Linked DNA regions of Homo sapiens: regions 1, 2 and 4 are each linked to region 3. Evidence: promoter capture Hi-C in 16 types of primary human blood cells and fetal thymus (Javierre and others, 2016). All regions are on one chromosome and are shown on one strand. The core of a region is centred on a gene start or on the middle of the fragment in contact, and the rest is flanking DNA. Distances in the headings are between cores, read along the strand shown. Region 1 overlaps ITGB1BP1 (integrin subunit beta 1 binding protein 1). Region 2 overlaps ASAP2 (ArfGAP with SH3 domain, ankyrin repeat and PH domain 2). Region 3 holds the start of ASAP2 (ArfGAP with SH3 domain, ankyrin repeat and PH domain 2). Region 4 overlaps ASAP2 (ArfGAP with SH3 domain, ankyrin repeat and PH domain 2).

Region 1 (6,364 bases), core at 2,360-4,859, 210 kb before region 3:
TGGCTGCAGTGTGGGGGTAGATTTAAAGTGTTAGGGAATCCAGTAGGACAAGGTCCCTTATCCACGAAATATCCTTGGGTTTGTGAATTCCTTAAATTCATGCCAAACTTTGTATGGATGTGCATTTTTATAGGGTGAGGATCCATCACATTCATCAGTTTCTAAAAAAATAGTGTCTGTGCCCATGGTTTAGGATGACGGGGGCCCTGGTGGAGAGCTGGCTCAGAGAGCTCTTCAGGTGGGGTATACAGTGGGTCTTGGTGCCAGATTGGATGTGGGGCCTGAAGGACAGCAAGGAAATCATGATTTTCTGGCTTCCTCCAGCAATAATAGAATCTCCTGACAGGGAGAGGAGAGGAGAGGAGCAGATCTGGAGGGGAGGATGATGGGTTCAGCTTGAGACATCTTTGCATTTGATGAGCCTGCGGAGCATCCAATCGCCAATCAGGATCATTGGCCTCATTTTGATGCATGAATAATTTTTTTTTTTTTTTTTTGAGACGGAGTCTCGCTCTTTCGTCCAGGCTGGAGTGCAGTGGCGCGATCTCGGCTCACTGCAAGCTCCGCCTCCCGGGTTCACGCCATTCTCCTGCCTCAGGCTCCTGAGTAGCTGGGACTACAGGCGCCCACCACCACGCACAGCCAATTTTTTGTATTTTTAGTAGAGACGGGGTTTCACCATGTTAGCCAGGATGGTCTCGATCTCCTGACCTCGTGATCCGCCCGACTTGGCCTCCCAAAGTGCTGGGATTACAGGCGTGAGCCACCCATGAATAATTTTGAGGCAAGAATGATTTGCTTGAGAACATGCATCAAAATTGCAGCAGATATCAAAGACTTTAATAAATGCTGCTTTTTCCTAAGCCGCTGGGTTGATGATGAAAAGAAAGCCTTAAGGAGTTGCTAAGGCATTGTCGTGTCATGATTTTCATATCAAGGGATTTGAGGAGACACTTCAGGATTCCACTGACAGTAGAATCACATTTTGTTTTTAAAATAAGTTTTGATTTAAAATTCAAATCATATTTAAAATTGTTACCTATATATAAATATGTATTTATATATACTTAAGTATCTGATGTTTAAATATGTTACACATCAACATTTTAACCCGTGAGCGCCATTAACATGGCACTTTATGCTGCTACGTTAACCTAGTTTCGTGCAGGCCTTGGAATAAGGCTCTCCTGCCATCTCTCACTGACAAGTGTCCTGTGCTGGTAAGGTTCCCCTTTGCAGCAATCACCCGCAGTCTTCTTCCAACACATCTCTCACTTTTTACCCTTATCCAGTGGAGTTAGTTCGCTATCTGGCAGCCAGGGTCATCGTTTAAAAAACAGAAGACACCTGATTGTGTCGCTAAACTGCTTTTTAAAAGCCTCCATTCCAGAAGATCACAGCAGATAAGCAAAAAATAAATAAAAAGCCTTCAGAGTATTCCTCTTAAACTAAAGTCCACTGTTACCGCGGCCTGCCTGGCCTTCTGTGGCACTTTGGGCCCATTGCTGTCCTCCTGCTCCCGGACAGCCTTGACTGTTCCCTCGGGCCCCTCTCCACCCGCACGGCATTGCCTCCAGGCTATTTATGGCTGCCCGCACTTCTTTCAGAAAAAGAGCTACAGCATCTTTTTCTGAAATACCCACCCCTTCCTTCCATTAGTCTGTGTCTCCTCAACTTGTGTTAGTTTTCCTCATAGCAGTGGTTTCCTAATAATATGTTTCATGTGTGTTTTTCTTGTTGGTCTGTCTACTCTCGCTAAGAACAGGCTCCCTGAGGTCAGGGGCTCTGTTTGGTTCACTGATGCATCCCCGACACCTGGTAGGTGCTCACTGACTATCCAGGAATGAATGAATAAATCAGATTTTCCTGGTACCCCACAAATAAAGCAAAAATATAGAAGTAAATTGGATGATGAGGCTGATTAAAAAGCTTGGGCTCAGTGGTCAGACTTGGGCAAGTGGCCTAATGTCGTCCCCTAGTAAGTGGACTTAGAGTGGGGTCTCCAAATACGGAGAATCTTTGGGTTGCAGCAGGAGCTTTCACTGACTGCTGCGTGAGTTGCTCGTTCTTTTTCCTTCATCAGGTGCGTAGTTTCTCTGAAAAGCATCACCCAGGTCAGAATGAAAGGAAACTCTCTGTGCAGACCGCTGTATGTGGGACCTTTGAAGACAGTCAAATAGTGTTCAATTCTATAGTAAGCAGATTTTCTTGTTCTCTCTGGAGAATACAGTTTTTGGTAAAAAATTGATCAGGTTATCTTATTCATAAATCGTCTTGAGAGGCAGGTCACAGTTCCCTCATCTGTAAAAGGCAGATTACAGCCCACCTTCTGTGAGCCCCTTGAGGGAGAGCTTAGAGCCCTGCAGAGTGTGTGGCATATGGTATGCCCTTAAAAAGCATCAGTAGAGCAAATGGATATGTCACAAGGTTATCATGAGGCTATGACAGTAGAACTGTCCCGGGAGTTCTGTGAGCTGTGCAGCTTCATGTAGGTTAGTTAATTTGCCAAGTATAGTATATGCTGTCCTTATGCAACTGGCAAGGATGAATCTTAGTTTCCAATGCATTTATTATTATTAATTTCAAAAAAAGAAATATGTAACACAGACTCTGGGAGGCAAGGTCATCTCCTTAACTACGCTTAATAGAGAGGGGAGGTGAGGTGCTGGCACCTGGGAATGTCTTTGTGTCAGCTTTTACTTAAAGGTATTTCAAAACTTCAAGAAAAATGCACATTTCTGAGAGGTGTGTATATCTTAGCCCTACCAAGTATAGAATGTGAAACTGAGAGGGTTACTGAATCTTAGTATCTCGACTGAAAAGCCAATGTGTCATAGTATATTTTGCTAAAATCTTGACTCAATTGAAGAGAAGTAAGGCCCTTAAAATTTTGAGAACTAGGTGACGTGTCTGAAAATTTTGAGAAAAGTGCTTTTCACACCTGTAGGACAAGAAGGTTTCTGCCTTTTTTGCTTATTGGGTTAACTTTCTATAATTTAATAGGAAAGAATGAAAAGGAATAGTATCCAAGGGAAAAGTTAATTGATGATTTTTATTTCTATTTTGCATAAAGTGATTTAATGTTGCATTTCCTGATGTAACTGTAACCAATATCAAAGTTGCTTTTCCTGGCTGGGCATGGTGGCTCACAGCTGTAATCCCAGCACTTTGGGAGGCCAAGGCGGGAGGATCGCCTGAGAGCAGGAGTTTGAGACCAGCCTGGCCAACATGGCAAGATCCTGTCTCTACAAAAAATGAAATTAGCTGGGTGTAGTGGCACATGCCTGTAGTCCCAGCTACTCGGGGAGGCTGAGGTGTGAGGTCAAGACTGCAGAGCCATGTTTGTGCCACTGCACTCCAGCCTGGGTAAGAGCAAGACTCTGTCTCTTAAAAAAAAAAAAAAAAAAGTTGCTTTTCCCGATGTAACTGTTACCAATATTTGTTTTTTCAGGGGATCTTCTCTGGATCAAGCAATGGTGGTGAAAAATGTTTCGCAAGGGCAAAAAACGACACAGTAGTAGCAGTTCCCAAAGTAGCGAAATCAGTACTAAGAGCAAGGTAGGGAAATGGAATTTGGAACAGAATCATAAAGCAGGGAGAGTTTTGTTTCTTCTAGCTGATATTGTATGGAGGATACTGACCGTGGGCAGATCTCCTGATAATCTTCAAACTAGTGTGTTTTAACATTTACTTTTTGCACTAGAGATGCATTCTATGCTTGGCTTCATTTTGTCTGTTCTGGTAGGTTTTCTGAAATTCTTAAATCCATTAAACTAGATGGGACATGACCTATGAATGGTTTCGTTGAAATAAGCACTGATTTAAAAAATTTTTAAATGATAGAAATTGCAGGCATTAAGGGGCTGGGCCTCTTGAATTCTAGGGTTTGTGGTGTGCATAATTACTTTTACTTAAGAGTGAGATTGGCAGATAGCTGTATACCAGAGAGTTTTTGAATGCTGTTGGAAGGTAAGCGTGGATTTAATTCATGCAAAACAAACCGTTGAGGAGCTATTCAACTGGCAACTTTTGTCTCAAGTAATAAAGTGATTTCATTTTGACTGACAGATAATTTTTCAATATAAGAGTATAAAGATAGCTGCATTATATTTGTTCTAGGTTTTTGACACCAATTTTGTTGGTGTTTAGAAGAATGGCAATTTTATTTCTACCTCCTGGACAATGGCACGTGAACACTCATTCATTCACCGAGTATTTGTTGAGCATGGCTGTGTGCCAAACTCTGTTTAAGGGGCATAAAATAGAGCAGTTAGGGAGAGGGAAGAAATTCCTGGCCTCAGAGCTTCCATTTCAGTTGGGGGAGAAAATAATGAATAAATAAGTAAAATATAGAGTTTCAGATGGTGGAAACTAACACGGGGGGAAGAAACTACAGGAATGGAGGGGGTGGGAGATTGGGAGAGGGGCAGTATTCAACAGTCTGGTAGAAAAGGTCTTATTTTCAGGCCGGGCACGGTGGCTCATGCCTGTAATCCCAGCACTTTGGGAGGCCAAGGCAGGCAGATCACCTGAGGTCAGGAGTTTGAGACCAACCTGGCCAACATGGTGAAACCCCATCTCTGCTAAAAATACAAAAATTAGCCTGGTGTGGTGGCACACACCTGTAGTCCCAGCTACTTGGGAGGCTGAGACAGGAGAGTTGCTTGAACCAGGAGTCGAAGGTTGCAGTGAGCTGAGATCACACCACTGGACTCCAGCCTGGGTGACAGAGCAAGATTCCGTCTCAAAAAAAAAAGAAAAGAAAAGGTCTTATTTATTTTTTTCTGCCCCTCCTCCCGAGAAAAGGCCTTGTTTTCTTGGTGGCATTTGAGCAGGGGCCTACAGGAGAAGTGGGGCCATGATAAGATCTGGAAGGATCGCAGTTTAGGGAGAGGAGAGAGCAAAGGCCCATGGGAGGAGTGAGCCTGTGTGTTTGGGGGACAGCAGGGAGACCAGCGTGGCCTGGGCGAGGCAGGTGCAGGTGTTGTGAAGACCTGGGCTTTTACTCTGAGAGTAAAGCAGGGGGCGCCTGGGGCCAGGGAGTGACAGAATATTATATAAGTTTTGTTGGGGGTCACTTTGGCCACTGTGAGCAGGGAAAGGGCAGGAGCAGAGAGACTGCCGGGGAGGATGTGGTAAGAACCTGAGAGATGATGGGGGCTTGGACGGGGTGTGAAGGAAGCGCTGAAACCTCAGGTTCTGCAGAGAGTTTGAGGTGGCACTCATGGGACCCATGGATCGATGATGATGGCTTGTGGAGTATGAGGAAAAGAGAGTTATCGAAGCTTAAACCCTTAACATACCAGGTGCTGTGGGAGGCAGAAAAAGTGATTCATTCCAGGTGTTTCTACCTGGATGCCAGATACCATTTGAGACATGATTGACACCCAGAGACAGTGAATAATTCAGAAAACATGAAGGTGCGTGAGGTAATGACAGATACTGCTTGAGGGATTCAGAGACTGGGGAGGTTGTAGGCCTAAAGTTGTGGAGGAAGTCGTATTAGTTGGAGTTCTCCAGAGAACCAGTAGGATGTGTTTATATCCTAGAGATTTTGATGTATTTTCAAGGTTTATTTTGAAGAATTGGCTGATGTGACTGTGGGGGCTGCAAGTCTGCAATCTGCAGGGCGGGCTGAAGACCCCTGGGAGTGGGAGTGGGAGTGGCAGCTTGAGCCCAAAGGCAGCCTGGAGGCAGCTGGAGGCAGACTCTTCTCCTTGGGAGCCTGAGTCATTTTCCTTTAAGGCCTTCACCTGCTTGGATGAGGCCCGCCCACACGGTGGAGGGTCCTCTGCTGTACTCCATGTCTGCTGGTGTAGACGTTAATCTCATTTAAAGAAACACCTTCACGGCAATGTCTAGACTTGTATTTGACCAAGTATCTGGGTACTTAGCCCAGAGAAGTTGATATATAAAATTAACCATCACAGAAGTCTTCCCAAAAAAAAGCAGGTAGTGAATGAGACCTTAAAATATACGGGTCAAATAGGCATAAATGAGGAAGGGGGTTAGACATCCCAGGCACAGGCAGGAAGCTGGAGGCTGAGTCGGGTCAATGAGTGAGTGAGTGGGATGGGATGGGATGCCGTGACTCAACAGCCTTTTCATGATTTTCCACCCTTGCGAATGCTCTAATTTTAAAGTTGTGTGTTCACTCAGTCCCAGGACCGGGGTGAGGCACAGCACAGAAGGAGGCGTCTCGCAGGGTCGCACAAGGCCCCCTCAGGAGATGCCTCCCTAGACCTTTCATCCCGGGTGCCTGCCGGGCCTCCCATGTGCCACATGTGCCACGCTGTTAAATAACAGCCACATGTGAATGAGACAAAGACACACGACTGCCACTCAGTTTCCAGTCAGGGCAGGG
Region 2 (6,414 bases), core at 2,087-4,586, 130 kb before region 3:
AGTGTCCAACATCCTCTGTCCTGTGACACCCAGACAAGTTCTCAGAGCTCAGGCATCATCCTTGATCTTAACTTTTCTGTGGCCCTATGAAGTATTAGCCATTGGGTCTGGCCAACACAGAATCTGCCCAGATGACCAGTAGAATCCTTGAGCTGTCTAAGACTCTAAAGACTCTAGGATAGCTTAAAAACTGACATTTTGCCCACTTCTTAGAAAGTCAGTGTCCAGACAATTCCTGTGATTGACAAGCTTGTCGAGGAGTCATTTTTGGAAGCTTAAAATTTCTCTGCCCAGGAGGGCTGTGATGTCCAATTCATTCCCCCATCTTCTGAAGATATGACAGGTATGTCCACCCACATGGGCACAACTGGGAGCTGGAAGCCTTGCTGAGCCAAGCACTGAGCCATGGTCTAAGAACAATGCTTTCAAATATCGTTACCACCTATTCTCCATTATTTAAGGGTAATTTTTAAAAGACTCCGGAGAACCAGTTTGACATGGAATAGATCAGGGTCAAATCCTGGCTCTGATGCCACTGTGTGAGCCCAGCAAGGGCACTTATCCTCTCTCTCTCACAGAATAAAGTTGCAGACATGGCTGGCCGGGCGCGGTGGCTCATGCCTGTAATCCCAGCACTTTGGGAGGCGGAGGCGGGCAGATCACGAGGTCAGGAGCTCGAGACCAGCCTGGCCAACATGGTGAAACCCCGTCTCTACTAAAACTACAAAAATTAGCCAGGCGTGGTGGCGCGTACCTGTAATCCCAGCTAATTGGGAGGCTGAGACAGAAGAATCACTTGAACCCAGGAGGCAGAGGTTACAGTGAGCCAAGATTGCACCACTGCACTCCAGCCTAGACGACAGAGGGAGATTCTGTCTCAAACAAACAAACAAAAAGCTGCAGACATGGGCAAACATTGCCTACCCTGTAAAGTGGCTTGTAAGGATCGTTGGCCACACTTGTAAAGTGCCTGGAAAACCTGAAAAGTGAGGTAAACAGGAAATGCCCTGCAATGGATAGGAACAGGTCCCTCCTCCCCTAGAGTGAATGTGGAATGTGACGCAGGCTGGACACAGAGAGGTGGGTGAGAGGCAGGTGAGGCTGGAAGGCCTGGGTCAGGAGTAAGAGGAGAAGCCTAGAGCTGGGTATGACAGCATCTTGAGTCAGATAGTGAAGAAGGAAGAGGGGCAAGAGCCATGAAGACATAGGGCCAGAGGACGGACCAACAAGGAGGCTAAGGGATATGTCACACACAACGACAGCAGCAGTATCCATTCCTGTTGAACCTCTAAGAGCGCGACACCATGAGGGAAGGGAATTTGGTCACTACGGTATCTTTACCACCTAGGAGCTCAGTATTTGTTGAATGAACTATTAAGATAGTTTATTAATATTTATTAAGATTATTAATAAATAATTTTACTATTATTAAGATAATATGGTAAGTGCTCTACAGAAATTATCTCTTAGATCTCCTGAAAACTCTGAGGTTGGCTGTATTATTCCTATTTGACAGACGGGGAGACCATGACATGGAGAGGTCCAGGAACCTGCCCAGTGTCACAGGGCAGGGTAGGAAGTGGGAGACCCAGGATTCAAATGCCAAGATCCATGCTCTTCTGCTCTGCTAGACAGCTCCCCAGGCAACCCCGTCCTAGTCAGAAGCTGTCCTCTCCACCAGCCTCACCTGCTGGGACTCTGCTAACTCCTGCCCCGTCCCCAGTTTTTTGTTTTTGTTTTGGAGATGAGGTCATGCTCTGCTGCCCAGGCTGGAGTGCAGCAGTGCGATTTTGGCTCACTGCAACCTCCACCTCCCAGGCTCAAGGGATCCTCTCACCTCAGCCTCCCGGGTAGCTGGGACTACACGTGCATGTCACTACAACTGGCCAATTTTTTTGACTTTTGGTAGAGATGGAATCTCACTATGTTGGCCAGGATGGTCTTGAACTCCTGGACTCAAGCAATCCACCTGCCTTGGCCTCCCAAAGTGCTGGGACTATAGCTGTGAGCCACCATGCCTGGCCTGCCAACTCCTAATCATCCTTCTAAGCTCCATCCCAGGTATCACAGCCTTTGGGAAGTCATCCCTGATGGCACCTGCCCAGCCCGCACTGGGCAGACACTGCTTCCTGGAGCTGATGTCCACGAGTGCTCTCATTACACTGCACCCCAATTGCTTCTCTGTCCCCACCCCCAGAGCATGATCCCCTGAAGAGATGATAACCTGATCCATCTTGTTCTGTTGTGTTTGTGGAGTGCTGGCTTAGGGTAACAGTGGAAGAAAGGGTAGCTGGATGTGTGAATCAACAAACGAGTCCTCCACTGAGGGTGACATGGAGGCCAGAGCCAGGCTACCTAGCAGCTTGGCAGGAGAGGCAGGCAGGTGGCCCCTGGCAGAGATCTCTGTGATGAAGGCCAGATTTGGGCATGTAAGATACGCGAACCCAGAGGCAGAAGAAAATTATGGCTGTGGTGGACCTTGGCTGCCTGGGTGGCACAAACTGTTCTATCACATCCTACTAGACAGGATGCTTGAAAAAGAGGGAGCAAGAGAAAGAGAGAGAGAGAGAGATAGAGACAGACAGAGAGAGATAGACAGACACAGACAGACAGAGAGAGAGAGAGAGAGCAACCATACTTGAGATCTGCAGAGTGGAAAACCATGGTGGTTTCAGCACTCAGACCTGTGAGACCATGCCCCAGAGCCTGATCCTCCCCATAGAAGCACACAAGTCTGGGTTCTCCACATCAAACAGCAGAGAGAGCCTGCACACAAGTGATGAGGCTTTGGGACTCCGCCAGCACCCCAACAGGGTCCATCCTGGCAGAACACCATCGGATGGACGACGTGGGATGGGGAAGGCAGGAGGCGAGGCTGACGGGGAGAGAGCTCAACCAAAGATGAGCAGTGCCAACGAGTTTAACTGTGTAAATAGGATCTTCTCCAAAAATCAAACACTATGGTACATAGTTCGATCCTCATTGTATAATATTGCACTATGGGTGGTCACTGCACAATTTTTCAACTTTTCTCCAAGTATGAAAACCTTCACAAAGAAAAATAATGGAAATACCAAAGAGTAGTATTCTCCTTACAGAGAGCAGAAAATATCAAGAACAAAACATGAATGGCCAGTGATTGGGAGGTGTGAGGTCACCGGGACCAGAACGGCACAAGCTCCACACTAAAACAAAGCTGCAGGGTCACAAGGAAACAGCAGCACGAAGCTACCACACTGGAATGGCCACTCTTCATTCCTTCAATAACTGATGCTTGGGATTTACAGGAAGAGAATGAGGAGCACTGGCTTCTACCAACCATCAAGGCAGTTTCTTTGGGGCATGTTACTTAATTTCTATCAACTGTTATTACACAGGGAGGGTTAGAATTTTTATAACACTGAATAAAAATCCTCTTAACACCTTCAGTTGTCTAAGTCACAGAAGAAAATCCAACCAAAGGGAATGACGGCCTAAACAATAATGACCAAATGATCAATTCTTATTGCAAATTTGAGGTATACAAGATGGAACCCCCATCATAAAAATCATTTTAAAACAGAAAATTTAGCATTTTCACATCTGCTTATTACTTGCAACTGTGTTCAAAGATTGTCCAACTTGCTGAATGCCATCACCTAAAAGCAACGCAGAGCATGATACACAGAAAACACAACACGCCCACAACTAGGAGACTGTTGAGTTAGGTCTTGACAAGGAGCCAACTGGGCAGACAGCCAAAGAAGAATAGTAAAGGAGGTTCATTTGATCCCTCTGTGCAATCAGGGGCAGATGGGCTGGTTAACAAAAAACAACAAACTATAAAGAACTTCTGGTCTGTGCTGGTAAATTTGTTATTACTTTCCTGCGAAGCTGTAAATAACCAGTTCTCTCACAACAGCCCGTTTTCCCAAACCTCCTAATTCTGCACAGGCAAAGCAAACACAGCCTTTGCACTGTGCCCAGAGGGCCATTTGGCCCCAGCAGCTGCTCTGCCTTATTTTAAACCTGAGCTTTGCTTCATGGGTTGGATCTTCCTTCTTAGACAAAGGCAGTTCTCGATCATTTCCAACGGTGCGCTGGGGAGCAGCCACCTTGGACGGCATTCTGGCTCCTGCCCTCGCACTACCTCCTCCTCGTTACCGCTAGCCCACTATTTTCTCCTTACGCCAAGTTTTTTTTCCTTTTTTTGCTTATTGGGAATATCAAAGCGTCAGGGCCTACATTCTCTAGACTAGGAGGAAGTCACCATGTTGTAGGTCCTTTCTAGCACTAAATATAACCTTGCTCTGCCAGTGTCTCACTTAGTTGACCCATGTTTACCAAAATCCTACTAAATGAGCGCTGTGGCACTACAGTGTGATGGAAGAATGGCTCAGAAGGCAGGGTGGCATCCTCAGGCTGCTCGAGGTCCAGCTGGTGAAAAGCCATCTGTGCACTTAAGGCACAACCAACACTCAAAAAGAGGAATAGGCTGTGATTCAAATGGGGCATTCAAACAGGATGTGCTCTGTGAACTCAGATCACTGTGGGCTGGGGTGATCAGAGGCAGCGCTCCAGAGGTGGGGCTTCAGAGGGACTAGAGAGATGTGTAGAATTCAGCCACTCAGGGGAGAGAAAGGGAGGGAGGGAGGGACCTGCTTCATCTTCATAAAGGAACAGCAGCAAAAGTGTAAACTGTAAACCCAGAAAATGTCCACTTCCCTAATATTTATGCAAACTCTTCAGCCTTTAATAAAGTCTACAACAATGAAAGGTGAGGGGTTAAAATAAAAAATGCTACTAACCATTAATATATAAAAGGAATATATATATGTATGTTCACGAATAAAACATGCAAAATTCTGCAATTTATTAAAATACTGAACTACTTACTCTCCTAGACTTCGGTCACAAAAGGTAAACGCATTTGGGAGAAAAACAACAATATTCAGTTATAGTACAAGAACTTACAATAAAATAGAGCTCACCAAACTGCCAACAGGGAACTTTATGCTGTCAAGTAGTTTAGCAATTTCTCTAAAATCACTAGATATATGTTTAGATACATTCCTTTTATTAACAAGGAAATGGATTTATACTAAATTCACATTATGATACCCACATTGTAGTGAAAATATAGTAAAATTATCTTTAAAACTTACTTTTTAATGGCTTTTTAAAAACAAGTCCCCACAACACAAACTGTCCCTGCTGACGTGTTAGCACACAGAGACGTCATTACAGAAAGAGGGGAAGTAAGAGAACTAAGGATTTCTGCCTGTCATGATGGAGGCAGCTGTAAGAAAAGCTCATGCCTCATATTTTATAGAACACAATCTCAGGGCTGGCAGAGCCCCAGCTGGTCCCCTGCTACGTGCCTAGGCCTAAAGGGGCAGAGTCCACGTATGTCAGGGTAGGGAAATGACACAGGGCCAGGTACAGGATAAATAGCACAAATGACACATGGTCTCTGTGACGAAGCCACTGAGAGCTCCTTATCTAGCAACTGACAGAGCACAGGGTTTATACACCGCCATTAAGGCCATGCATGTAGTAAATGCTTCCTCCTGAAATAAACATATTTTAAAAGATGGTTTTATAGAACTAAATTGCAAGAATACATTAAATGTTTTACTGGTGCCTGACACAGCCCGAGTGAACTGTGAGCTCCTAGAAGACATGAACTTCATGTTCTTCAGACCCAAAGCCTCCAAGAATGGGGTGAAAACTGCAATCTTTCAAAATTAAATCCCCTCACCTCTTTCTGTTCAACCTGCAATGCGGATTTCAAAATATCTCGAAGCTGTATCAACTGCCTTCTTTCTTCATCCTGGGCCTGTTTGATCTTTAAAAACACACACACACAACAGAACCAATCAGAAAATTAAGACTGAGGTACAGTGAAACGTTGGTGCTCATGGGGCCATTTCCACACAATGCGACAACTGCCTCCCTCGCTGGTCAAACCTTCCCTCCCACCAAGACAGAGGACAGGCGTGGGAACGCCACACTCCACGTGGGCGGCACGGCATGAAAACACAGGATTACACAGAAGTGACATTTAGATGAAAATGTCTGTTGCATTAAGATGGTTTTAAACCACAGTGGGAGGGAAGCTACTCACCGTGTGAAGATCCGTAGACAGCGTTTCAATGGAAGGTTTGAGGCTTTCCACGGCTTTGAGTCCATCCTGAAAAAAACTAGCAGGAAAAAGAAGAAACAGAGATGACATTTCACAAAGGAAAAAATAATTTTGTCAGACAGATTAAAAACTTCTTTAAAGTGACTGAAGTCATTATGTAACTCCTGGGGGAAAAGACTGTATGAACAGAACCTTAAAATATCAGGCAAACCAAGAATAAAATGACACTCAAAATTAGCAGGAGCGAACAGAAAAGGAAATGCAATAAGCTTAAGTATTTGAGATTTTTC
Region 3 (6,651 bases), core at 1,906-4,405:
AACAGCACATTTTAATTGTAAAATGATTCTTTGGCAGATAGAACCTACATTGGAAATAACAGATTCAAAAAGGTTAATCAGTTTAAAATTAGTTTGCTGGCCGGGTGTGGTGGCTCACGCCTGTAATCCCAGCACTGTGGGAGGCTGAGGCAGGTGGATCACCTGAGGTCAGGAGTTCGAGACCAGCCTGACCAACATGGTGAAACCCCATCTCTACTAAATACAAAAAATTAGCTGTGCATGGTGGCGCATGCCTGTAATCCCAGCTACTTGGGAGGCTGAGGCAGGAGAATCGCTTGAACCTGGGAGGCAGAGGATGCAGTGAGCCAAGATTGTGCCATTGCACTCCAGCCTGGGCAACAAGAGCAAAACTCCGTAACAAATAAATAAATAAATATAAAATTAGTTTGCTAGTTCCGTGATTCATTTGTTTAAACATAAGACCAAGAGCTTGCAAATTTTATTTATTTGTTAAATGAGTAACTTTATGTCATGATACCCTCTCATGTTTCGTCTCAGTATGAGAAGATTTTTGTTTAAAACCAAAATACTGTACACATCAATTGTTATTAAACCATACATAGAACAAGTTTTGGTAATAGACACGAACATTAGACACCTGGGAAAGAGCATTATTTAAAGAAATCCACATTGATTTACCTCAGAAAGTGAACAACTTTCAAATTTAGTTATAAAACCAAGCTCACACATACCATCATCATAGCATGTATGTAGATTTGCTTAAAGTGAAATAAACCTGAAATGATTTTAATTTTTCCATTTTGAGACTTGAACCAATTCTTGGGCTTAGACGGCAGCATGAAGCAAGCTTGCAATTTAATGAAATGACCAAATCCAGTCTCTTTGTAATCTGCTCAGTAACTGAGCTCTAGGGTAATCTCCTGCACAGCATACAAAAAGAGCTTTGGAATTATACACTGTAAACTAAAATTAATCAGAGAAAGGTATGCCAATTTTAATAGCAATTCTTGTTTGCTTGGCTTTCCAACATCTGCCAGTGTTAATAATATTTAACTGACAAACTGCAGTGGGGAAAAGCAACAGAACTTTAAACATAATCAAGCTTTCTAAAGAAAGACATCATGCACAATGCTTCCTTCCCTTAAGAAATATTCAGCTACCTTTTTGGTTGCAATCATTCCATAAACATTATTAATGGTGTATTCTCAAAACACCGTGCTTTTTAACTGGCACTTAGGAAAAAATTTCATTCACCCATCCCCATCTGCCTCATTTGAAGGCATCATCTGTAAGCCTTGCTGCTAAAAGTAGAATTAAGTGATCTGGGGAATCACCGAATTCATAGGAAAGGTTTACATGCAGCTCTCTTCCGCCAAATTAAATGGAGAGAAGGAAGGCTACCCAAGTTATATTAACAGGATTCAGAATGCTGAATGTTACTTTTGACTCCCTTTTATTGACTGTTTACAGCTACAAAGAAAAAATTTTTCCATTAAGGGAAAACATTCTGGATTTTTTTTCAAGCAATTCCTAATAGCAGATGCTTTGTTCAAATGGGAAAAAAAAAAAAAAACCAGAAAAAAAAAATAACGCCATTGCTTCATTTAAAGCTCTTTGGTGACACCCACCCCCCCACCCACACACACACTCCTGCTAGCCCAGGCGTCTTCTGCTAAAACACCTGCAATACCCAATTTTAAAACTGTAACCTGACATCCTGGCCCAGAGACATTTAATCACAGATTCACTATTGCCACACGTGTGACTTGTAAACCTATTCTGAGCCGAGCAGAGTGCTAAGCACTTCACACAGTCTCTGATCCTGGAAAGGATGCATTACTAATCCCGTTTGATGGGTAAGGAAAAGGAGGACTGCAGGTGAGGATGTGCCTCAAACCACAGCCAACGGTGGCCCCTGGACTCACAGACTCTGCCCCTTTCCCCACGGCTTTAATTTTCAACCAAGCTTCTTCGTTCCTACGTGTTCCTCTCCCCAGGACCTGGAGAGCGTACTGCTTAGCAGCTAGGCGTGATGACTTTGCACCTTGAGAGCACTTTACTAAAACCAGGCCTTTTCCAGGTTGAGGGGGAAGGGCGGCATTCCGGGTTCAAGCAGGTGAGACCCAGGTAACCGGGGAGCGGCTCCTGGAGGCTTCTTGGACCCAGAAGCGCCGACTCTCACACACCTTGCCCGCAGTTCCTTCTCCGGGCACGGGTGGAGCGCAGCCAGGCCGCCCTGGCTGAGGCGGGCACGCCTTCCCGGGCAGCCCGGGATGCCCCGGACCCGCGGACCCGAGGGTGGGGGCCCTGCGGCGCTCGGGGGCTGCGGCGGGGAGCTCGGAGCGCGGAGCTGCCCCCGCCGGTCCACTTCAAGAACAAGTTGATAAGGTCCGCACCGGGTACCAAAGACCCCGGGCGGCGGCGGGCGGCGGCGGGCAGCGGGATCCCCCGCTCGCCGCGGACCCCGACTCTGGACAAAGTTGGCCGCGCTGCGGGGAAAAGACCAGGCCGCGGAACCCCGCGAGGGCCACGAGGCCGAGAGAGGGGAGGTCTTAAAGAGGCCCAAGGTGGCCATCACCCATCTCCTCCGAGCCACCTAGGCGGGAACAAAGGGCTTCTGTCTCGGGCAGGGTTGGCCCGGCCGCGTCCGGCTTCGGAGCAAAGAAAGTTTTCTCGGGATGCGGATGCGGGAGCGGCGGGCGGGGCTGGGGCGCGGGATACCTGCGGCCGGAGCCGCCGCGCAGGCCGCCTCACCTCCTCGATGGCCGCCACAGTGTTCCGGCACTGCGCCGTGCGGGTGGTGAAGCTGGAGGCCGTGGGCGCCTTGTAGTCCTCATGGGTCTCGGCCACGAATTCCGACACGGAGATCTGGTCCGGCATCGCCTCGGCGCGAGGGCGCTGGCGCACAGCCGCAGGGGCGCCGCCGCCTCAACTGCCGCAGCAGGCTCCGACCGCCGCTCGGACACCGCCGCTGCCGCCGCCGCTCCGGCCCGCGGACAAAGGGGAGCGCCGGGCGCGGGAGCCGCGCGGGGCCTGGCGGCGGAGCAGGGGCGGCGCGCAGCCCCGCGCAGCTCGGCCGGTCCGCCCGCCTGCGCGCCGAGGGCTCCGAGTCCGCTGCCGCCGCGTCCTCTCAGAGCGAGCCCCGAGGCGGGCGCGCACAGCCGGCGGGAACTACCCGCCACCCAGCCGCGGGCCCCGACGCCTCCCGCGGAGAGGGGCGGGTCCGGGCCGGGGGCGGCGGCCGGCCGGGCGTGGGGCGGGGCGGCGGGAGGACCGGGCCGCCAATCGGCGCGCTCGCCGCTGCCGCGCCGCCGGGAAGCGGATCCCGCAGGAAGGAAGGCGGCGCGCGCCCCGGCCCGCCGAGCCGTTCCTGGCCGCCGCGCGCCGCATTGTCTCGGCGTTCCGGGCCCCGCGCGCCGCGCCCATGCCCCGCCCCCAGCCGGCCCGAGGCCCCGACTCCGACCCGCTGCCCGCGAGGGTGCGTGTGGAGGTGCGCCCCGCCGGAGTCCGGCCTTGTGCGCGCCAACCGCCCCCCGCCCACGGCGCGGAGCACCTCTGGGCTCCCCACTTGAACGGCGGGCCGCGCCGGCCCATGAGGAAAGCGGGGTGCGGAGCTCGCCCCCTGCCGGAGGATGCGCTCCGCCGGCGGGCACCCTGCGGGGACCACAGCCGGACGCCAGAAGTGACCTGACCGTGAATGTGCGCTTTGCGTGCAGTCATTGCATCGTCGCAGGCCTAGGAGACAGATGAAGAGATGGGTGCTTATTTTATATAGGGGACACAGTGTGCCCAAGAGCACAAGATAAACGGCCGGGTGGGGATTCAAACCCATGTTCCCTGACTCAAGTGTGAGTGCTTCAGAGCGGTGAGGGGCCCCTACTAAAAGTCCCAGTCGCGTTTCCTAGGCTGCCCAATGATAGGTATTCTCGGTTATAGTTTTAGGGTACTAGGCCAGGACCCACCCTGGGAAGGCTGCTGAACGCCCTGAAGTGGTATTCCCGCAGGCAGAGGAGGGAACCGAGGGGGTGCAGGAGGAGGAGGAGGGGGAGAACGTGCTACAGCAGCCAGCCAACCTCACACAAAACCGGGCCAGTAAAGGGTTCGAACTGGTACCGATTTTTATTTACAGCTCTTAAGGAAATTCTCGGTTATACTGAAAAATCCAGAAGCTCTGAAGATACCAGTCAAATAAAATCACACCCTATAACTCTACACCAGACTTGTGGCATGGTTTCTGTAGCTGCCAGCGGTAAAACCAAGAGAAACTTTACAAAAACCTTTTGTGCATCTGAAAAGGAGGAAGTGTGAGAGACACTGGAAATTCAATATGTCAGACAAAGCCGTCTCCTGACACTGCAGGACAGTAGACCAGTCAAACAATCTTTTTAAAGCCCCCATGTAAGAAGTTGCTATATGAGGTGGCAGCTTGGGTCAGACATTATGTATGGCCTTTGGTATTTTAGTAGCACTGCATGTAAAATTTAACTTTCTAAAATCGCTGTATTCGTGGATAGCTTTTATCATTGCACTAGACAACAAGTTACAATTTAAAAATTGTATCTGTTTCTTTTTATGTTTTTTGATCCTTTTGGTGTCTGAAGTTTTCCTCTATTTGCAACCTTCTACAATTCATGTTTTGTGTTTATTATTTATATTAATACATCCTCTCCAACACCAGGCAGATTCTGTTCCCGCCTACCTAGTTTCCCAGCTACAGTTTTTGACATGAGGGAATATGCTGAATAACTTTTCAAGTCTTGATTTGTAGAGGGCTGGTCTCTATGAGGCTATGAGGGATCTAAGAAAGAAAGTCGGGTTTTTCCTTGATGTCTAGTACAGCATTAACCAGACTAATCAATACTTCTACAAGGACAAAGTTAAGCTTGGTATTCTCTGTTCTCTCTTTATATACAACTCCGGTTCTTGTTTCTTTTAGTTTAATTTTGCAGATACAGGAAGCTTTAGTAGCCTCAAAAAAATAAAATTGCAAAGCTGTGTTGCATTGCAAGGCTGGTGGAAAACAACAATTAGTTACCAAGTTCATTGGTGGCCTAAAGAGGATACCAAATTGGTAGAATGCTAGAGCCATTTATTCCTCCATCATCCCTTAGAAATCTAACTTGCCTACTGCATAAGCCTAGAATTAAAGCAAGACCAGAGCAAAACATAGCTAATGCCTTTCTGAGATTAATATAAGAATGAGTAGCTTCCAATAAATAACAATAAAATTAAAGTTCAACATGGATCAAGGAAACACTCTACACATACTCATTTTTTTAAATGCATCAAGAGAAGAAGAGTATGCTGGTAATGTCCTTACAGGCCTATACTTCCTTAACCAGAATTACTAAAAATCCCTGAAAATGTAGCTTTACAAATAGTTCTTAATAGTAAAATTCATCTGAAATGAACTGATGTGAGGCTATGTGTGGTCTTGTTTATCCTACCTCATGTGAATATGTATGTTTTGCTGCAAAATATAAACATGGTTGATTATGAAGTATTGCCCCAGACCCTACTGGGGGTAATTAGGAATATGTTATTATATGCAATGTGTTACCTTTCTAAAATCCGAAAATTTCTGAATCCACACATATCTGGCCCTTGGGGTTTCAGTAAGAGATTGTAGGCCTGTATTATTTTTTTTTAAAAAAAAAGGCGAAGAAAAAGGAGGAAGGAAGAAGGAGAAGGAAAGGAAGAGGAAAAGGAGAGAACGAAAACGTGATGTTAAAGACATCGTTTCCAGAGAAGAGACTCTCCTCCCAAAAATGAAATTTTTAGCGGCCCAGTGAGATTGGCCAACAGCCCATTTTCCAAAGGAATCTTCTGCCTCTAGTAGTTCACAAGAACCTGGGATTTATCACTCTCAGATCAAGGTGTAAAATATGTTCTTGACTCTGAAATTTGCTTGAGGGTTGGCTGGTTTACACAAGACTTGTCCAGTTCACTTGCTATTAACTTGTAAATGATTACTCTTGGAATGGGCAAATATGTGCTTTGAAAGAACTATGGTAAGAAATAGTAACAACAACCTAAAAACCCTGGTGATGTGAACATGGAAGTATAACTGAAAGTTTCTTTTCGTAACTTAATAATACTCTGCCCAAAATCGTGTTGCTGAAGGGACCCATTTATCCCCAAAGTGAGAGAAGATTGAGTACATTTACCACAGTTATCTCACTTTAGCACCCAGAAACTATTTTACAAATGAAAACTTGGGTTTTGGTAATAAATTGCTTCTCTGTGATAAGTAAGCTAGCCTCCCTAGGCCGGGCGCAGTGGCTCACTCCTGTAATCCCAGCACTTTGGGAGGCCGAGGCGGGCGGATCACGAGGTCAGGAGATCGAGACCATCCTGGCTAACACGGTGAAACCCCGTCTCTACTAAAAATCCAAAAAATTAGCCGGGCTTGGTGGTGGGCACCTGTAGTCCCAGCTACTCAGGAGGCTGAGGCAGGAGAATGGCCTAAACCCAGGAGGCGGAGCTTGCAGTGAGCTGAGATCCGGCCACTGCACTCCAACCTGGGCGACAGAGCGAGACTCTGTCTCAAAAAAAAAAAAAAAGAAAAAGAAATAAAGCTAGCCTCCCTAAAGAGTGTAGCTTGGACTAGCTAATTTCTAAGGCGCCTCCCCGTCCTGGTGTCCTGGTGTTCGTGCTGCCATTTTCTGT
Region 4 (6,225 bases), core at 3,512-6,011, 150 kb before region 3:
TCCTGCAAGATCTCATTTATATGCAAAATCTAAAAAAGCTGAACTCATAGAAGTAGAGAGCAGAACTATGGTTACCAGGGGTTGGGGGTGGGCATGTTGGTCAAAGCATGCAAAATTTCAGTTAGGATGAATAAAGTCTAGGGATCTAGTGTACAACACAGTGACTCTACTTAATAATAACGTACTGTATACTTAAAAATTTTGTTTTGAGACAGTCTCACTCTGTTGCCCAGGCTGGAGTGCAGTGGCAAGATCACAGTTCACTGTAGCCTCAACTTCCTGGGTGCTCAGGTGATCCTCCTGCCTCAGCCTCCCAAGTAGCTGGGACCACAGGTACTTGCCACCACTCCCAGCTAGTTTTAAAAAATTATTTGTAGAGATGGAGGTCTCCCTATGTTGGTCAGGCTGGTCTTGAACTCCCAGACTCAAACAATCTTCTCACCTCAGCCTCCCAAAGTACTGGGATTACAGGCGCCGGCCACCACACCAGGCTCAAGAGAGTAGATTTTAAGTGTTCTCACCACAAAACATAAGCATGTGAGGTGACAGATATGTTAACTAGCTTGATTTAGTCACACCCAATGTATACAACATACTAAAACATCATGTTGTACACTATAAATACATGCAATAAAAAATTAATTAAAAAAATAAAATCCTTTGCTGTCACAGCATGTCACCCTGAAACAGAGGCTGTTCTATTTACCCAAAAGAGGAGAGATGCTACTCCTGTGAGAGAACCTGTCCAGGCTGCACCCACCACTCTCCTTTCACAAGGCACCAAGGGGCCTAATGAACACTCACTATACAATAAAACATACTTCAATAAGCAAGTCAGCCGAGGCCCTGCATGGCATGCAACTCTGAATTGGAAAGGTTCGTAAGAACAGACAACCAGACAGACCATGCATGGCCTCCCTGGGGGTTCACATGCTAGCACATGGGGACCATTTTTCTGAAAGGATTTTGTTAAAGGAGATAACAATGATAACTAATACTTTATGGTTCTTAACGGTGTGTCAGACATAATTCTAAATACACACACACACACACACACACACACACACACACACACGCAGAGAAAGAGATAAGATAAAGAGGTAAAAAGACTTCAGGAAATCCTTCATCCCAGTACCTGATTGTCTAAGCAAAATAAAACAATCTGGATACTTTTAAAAGGCTTGAGGCCAAGCGCAGTGGCTCACACCTGTAATCCCAGCATTTTGGGAGGCCAAAGCAGGAGGATCACTTGGGTCCAGGAGTTCGAGACCAGCCTGGACATGGCGAAAGACCATCTCTACCAAAAATGCAAAACTTAGCCAGGCGTGGTAGCACTTGCCTGTAGTCTCAGCTACTGAGGAGGCTGAGGTGGGAGGATTGCTTGAACCCAGGAGGCAGAGGTTGCAGTGAGCTAAGATTGTGCTACTGGACTCCAGCCTGGGTCATGGAGTGAGACCCTGTCAAAAAAAGAAAAGGAAAAGGAAAAGAAAAGAAAGGAAGGAAAGAAAGAAAGAAAAAAGAAAAGAAAAGAAAGAAAGAAGCCTTGAAATTTCCAAGCTTTGCCAATGAATACTAACACCTGACACCCTACGTACTGCTTAACTGAAGGGCTAAGGAATAAGGTTTAGAGCCACGACACCATGACCACACTCCTAGCATACAAAAAATGGATTGGGGGAGCCGTGGGGAGATGTCCACCTCCTGTGAACCACAGAGGACCAGCCAGAGCTCAGGGAAAGCAGGGTTGAAGGGAGTAAATCCTACACAATTCACTGCTGTCTCTACTTTTCCTGATAACCACTGAGGAAAAAAGACTTGGGTAAGGGAGAGTTTAAAACTCTGGAAGCAATTAGATTTTGAAAATATCTGCAGACATTGATTAAGCAGGCACTGGCTGATTTCTCATTGTGGGTGACAGCCAACCAAACTTTAAACTCCTACAAGAATGCAGATGGAGGCTCTGGGAGACAGAAATGGAGAATTTAACCAGGCATTAGAAGTCACCTCATCGTTTCATCAAGACAGAACAACATATTCCTTTCACCTTTCTTTGGCATTTTCTTCTTTAGTAGGCAACTCAGTCTCATGAAGAACATGAAATTTCTGAGACACATTTAAAAAATTATAACAGATGGTGGGGTCGGGCTCCTACCAGCTCATATGAGTCAACTGTTAAAATTTCAGGAATTTTGCAAGCCAACTGTTAAGCACTGCTACTATTAAAAATTATGCTATATAAACTCATAATTATGTTACATTAATAACAAGTATATACTCAAAACTCATCACTTCCTAATTATACTGCATTTTACTATTGTCCATGTTCATGAAGTTATTTACATCCACTGTGTTTGCATAGTGAATGTACTATATAATGAACATCTTTTTCCAACTTCACATTGAGTAATTCACTTAGGTAGCTTGAAATTGGCCATTGTGGGAGTATTTACACCATGAGAACAGGCAGGTTGCAAACCAGGGTTCTTTTTTCTCCAGAGTTGACTGTTAAACATTTGTTGGGGACGGTGATAGGGAAGGACAGTAGAGATGTTTAAATGTTTATCATCTAGCAAGACAACCCACTAAAATGCCAATTTGTGTCCCAGGCTCGTCAAAGGTTTAAGTGTGAGGTCTGGTATCAGATTAAAGAGGCCCACACCCCAGATCTGTCACCTTAAAAGCTTCATAACCCTAGGCATACTGAAACATTCTAAGCCTCAGTTTCCTCCTCTGTAAAATGGGGATAATATACCAAGGTCATCAGGTTGTTACTGGAGATCAAATGAGCCTAGTATATATAAAGTGGCCTGCAAAATACATAGTACAAAATAAACAATTATTACATCATCTTGAATCACTTAACACTTTCCATTGTTTTAAGAAAATCAGTAAAAGAAACAACTGCCATAGTTCACCAGTGTTTACTGAAAAGTACTTTGTGCTTCTTTGAAAATGTACCATGACAACCTCCAATCTATGCCATCATCAGTTATCCAAGAGATACCACATGTACACCTGTGCACCTCTCTAAGCTGTAGGTTACGTGCATTATTACATGAACAATAATTGCTGTATGTAACCAGGAAGGCACTGTTTGGAGTTCCTTAGTTTTACATTTTAAGTGAGTCTAGCTTAGTTTTAAACTGTAAGTAACTAAGGATGTTACTAACTAGGCTGCCAGGATCCACTGTAGTTTCTCCCAACTCTGTCTTTCAAGACCATAAAGGAATTCCTAGAAAGACTGGAAAGGTTTGACAAGAGAGTTCAAAATGCATTCGAAGTTCAGACACACTGGATTCGAAGTCATCAATAAGACTGATGGCCCCTTGAGAGGAACATGGTCCACAACTATTGATTTTCTGTCAAGACTATTGCTCTTGACGTTAAATTCCCTACATGTAAACTTTTAAATTCAACATTAAAATCAATGCCAATCACTATCTACTTACTGTTTACTGTCAACATCCAGCTATCCCAGGAGAGAATTCAAGAACTGCTTTCTAGGGAAGACAGTCATGAAAGCTCATGTATTAGGTGGCCAGAAGCACCCTGTCTGATGGACCTTGTGGGACTACAGTCTCGATACTCTTGAAAGCCACTTCACAGAAAATGCTTCTGTCTCCTCCTATCTCTATCACATGGCTTAAGTGTTACCACTGAACCAAGAATGAAAGACTTAAGAAACAAAGGCAGTAAAAATGAAGACCAATATCTCCCCCCATGGGGGACAATCTGGGGTAGGGAGAAGTCGGAGGCTTGAGGCAAGTTGTCACCACAGCCTTGTCAGAAATCGCTGGTGATAAGGGAAAACAAGTACTTTCCTGTCTTTAGACGTTGCATTCCACATCTGTCTAATGGATGGGGTGAGCTGGTCTATGTCACCATCTTACTCCATTTCTGTAGAATCTCACACCACTCTCAATGCTCCTGTTTTGGTTTCACTCCCCTTTATTCATTTAAGAATAAAGTTTTGCAACAAGAAGTGCCCTCAACCACAAGTAGCTAAAAATGAAGAATTATCAATGAGTTTCTAATTATCCAAACCAATCTGGCAACATATCAACAACCACTAGCTTACCAAAATGGATTAGAATGCCAAAAGTAAAATTTAGCTTACAGCTCATTTGTTTCCAATCTGAAATCAAGGATTTAAAAATTACCAGCAGCTCAGATGTTCCCAGTACATCTAAGGTCAGGGACTGCATCCTGGAATAATGAACCCCCAGCTCTCGGTGGATTCCGGAACACTCGATGCAGGTCAGGATGCCCAGGTTGGTGGAAAGCCATGTAGGATCTGCCAAAGAGAACAGGGCAGATTTGAGCTTCCAGTAAAAAAGAGGGTCAGGAGTCACATCTTTCTTCCTGCATAGTTACTGAACAAGCAGTTCTGAGCATGAGCATTTTCTGATCCTTAACACAGCTGGAAACTTTGTCCATAATTACCACCAATTTACATGCAATACCCAAATATGCACACATCTACTCTCCCTCTTCTTCCCTCTCTCTCCATCTCCCCATCCTTCCATTCATGTGACAGGTGCTGTGTGTGCAAAAATAAACAGGACACACTCCAGTGACCAAGGGCTCCTCAATGGCTGGTGGTGAAAACACACCATGCCCATCACCAACTTGGTCACACTAGCAGAATGGAGCAAGAGGAAAACAATGAGACCAGCCAAAGTCTACTTGTAAAAGGGGAATAGGCTTAAAACATATGCATCTACAGATGCTGATAATAACAGAGAACGTACTATGTACATAAGATATGCTGTGTTCAGCATGCTGGTAGTAGCAATAACAGTTTGTGTTGTTAAGAGCTTCAGCAATCACAGAGCACTTTTGTATCAAATCTAAGAGTTCCATGAGATGACCAGGGCAGGGATTTTTATCTCACTATATGGCAGAGACAGCTTTGCGATGCTCAGGCTCGAGGTCGCCAGGGAGTGCAGAGCAGACTGTGGCCCTGCCTCTACCTGAGTTCAAAGCCACGTTTTCCCCTCACAGCTCGGCTACTCACTAACATGACCTACCATACATTTAGCAGATGATAGGGACCCACAAAATGCTTGACAGATGAATGTGGAATTTGCTAAAAATGGGAAATTAAAAATAAGATGTCCTTGAGTACATCATCACAACCCATAAATACAATTCTCTTCAGAACTGTTTGTTGCCCTGAGAAACTCACGGCAGGTAAATATCGCAACTTTAGTCAGTAGGAAATCATGAAGTTATTTTTTAAATGTTCAAGTTATTAAAAATGTTATCCATGTTGGAAAACCTTCTTGGCGTCTGTGTCTGCACTTGTGTAGGACGACTCCACTGTATTTGTGCTTTGCGGAGGTACAAGCATCCATTTAGGTGACTCTACATCATTTTTATATTACCCACACTGTCTTGGCATTTTAAAATAATGAGTACATACCTTTGAGTTCTTTATCAAAGCGTATGAAACACCCAAATCATAGACTGTCTTTACCCTTTCTCAAGAAAGACCATGATTCACTACTTATCACCCCCTACCTCATCTCCTGCCAAAAACGTATTTTCGGGTTTTTTGTTTGTTTGTTTTAAATACAGTCTCGTTCTGTTGCCCAGGCTGGAGTGCAGTGGCGTGATCTCAGCTCACTGCAACCTCTGCCACCTGGATTCGAGTGATTCTCCTGCCTCAGCCTCCTATGTAGCTGGGACTACATGTGCGCACTACCACGCCGGGCTAATTATGGTATTTTTAATAGAGACGAGTTTTCACCATGTTGGCCAGGCTGGTCTTGAACTCCTGACCTCAAGTGATCCGCCCGCCTCAGTCTTCCAAAGTGCCGGGATTACAGGCATGAGTCACTGCACCCAGTCGGTATTCTTTTTTTTTTTTTAATGGATCCAAGGCCAAATACAGTCTTCAGGGTCATGGGAACCTAAAGGTAATTCTCAACTGTCCACTCTTATTTTGGTTGTGTTTGGTTTTTTAAGAAAAATTGTCATAGAATTAGAGGAATGAAAAGGGGATTAACCATTCTAGCCAAGCCTCCATCTTTTTCATTTTATAAATGTTCAGAAAATGCACCTGTGTAGTCCCCGACCCCCACTCCCCACCATTGTGTCTCAATTAGAATAAGCAAATTCCTTAAATCACATCCTACTATAAAGCCCCTAATATGCTTTATCAAAATGTAAAAATAAAATCTTATTTCACAGAATGTGTCAGCTGAAAGGGTCCTGTCCCTT

What was found. Contacts are between HindIII fragments. The CHiCAGO score rates a contact against its expected background, and 5 or more counts as called.
Region 1: a contact is called between a fragment that was not itself captured here and the fragment with the promoter of ASAP2 in region 3, in 5 of 17 cell types (M1 macrophages, M2 macrophages, endothelial precursors and 2 more). The highest score is 8.2, in M1 macrophages.
Region 2: a fragment that was not itself captured here is called in contact with the fragment with the promoter of ASAP2 in region 3 in 5 of 17 cell types (megakaryocytes, endothelial precursors, M2 macrophages and 2 more); the score reaches 32.4 in megakaryocytes.
Region 4: a fragment that was not itself captured here is called in contact with the fragment with the promoter of ASAP2 in region 3 in 5 of 17 cell types (endothelial precursors, megakaryocytes, M2 macrophages and 2 more); the score reaches 17.1 in endothelial precursors.

Annotation. Positions count from the first base shown.
Region 1 is chr2:9,415,820-9,422,183 of GRCh38, reverse strand. ITGB1BP1 (integrin subunit beta 1 binding protein 1) reads left to right here. Exons shown (of 7, transcript NM_004763.5): 2 at 3,452-3,558. The coding sequence starts at 3,487. Among named protein-coding and RNA genes, the nearest start is that of ITGB1BP1, 4.5 kb to the left of the region's middle. RefSeq lists an enhancer at 1-205. The HindIII fragment of the contact is 3,356 bases long and covers 1,932-5,287 here.
Region 2 is chr2:9,334,506-9,340,919 of GRCh38, reverse strand. It overlaps ASAP2 (ArfGAP with SH3 domain, ankyrin repeat and PH domain 2), which reads right to left. Exons shown (of 28, transcript NM_003887.3): 8 at 6,107-6,182; 9 at 5,741-5,827. Among named protein-coding and RNA genes, the nearest start is that of ITGB1BP1, 86 kb to the left of the region's middle. The HindIII fragment of the contact is 6,119 bases long and covers 277-6,395 here.
Region 3 is chr2:9,203,316-9,209,966 of GRCh38, reverse strand. ASAP2 (ArfGAP with SH3 domain, ankyrin repeat and PH domain 2) reads right to left here and starts at 3,155. Exons shown (of 28, transcript NM_003887.3): 1 at 2,737-3,155. The coding sequence starts at 2,862. RefSeq lists enhancers at 2,143-3,073, 3,074-4,006 and silencers at 3,436-3,619, 3,366-3,625. The HindIII fragment of the contact is 2,916 bases long and covers 1,951-4,866 here.
Region 4 is chr2:9,356,825-9,363,049 of GRCh38, reverse strand. It overlaps ASAP2 (ArfGAP with SH3 domain, ankyrin repeat and PH domain 2), which reads right to left. Exons shown (of 28, transcript NM_003887.3): 15 at 4,161-4,294. Among named protein-coding and RNA genes, the nearest start is that of ITGB1BP1, 64 kb to the left of the region's middle. RefSeq lists an enhancer at 5,997-6,225. The HindIII fragment of the contact is 4,155 bases long and covers 2,684-6,225 here.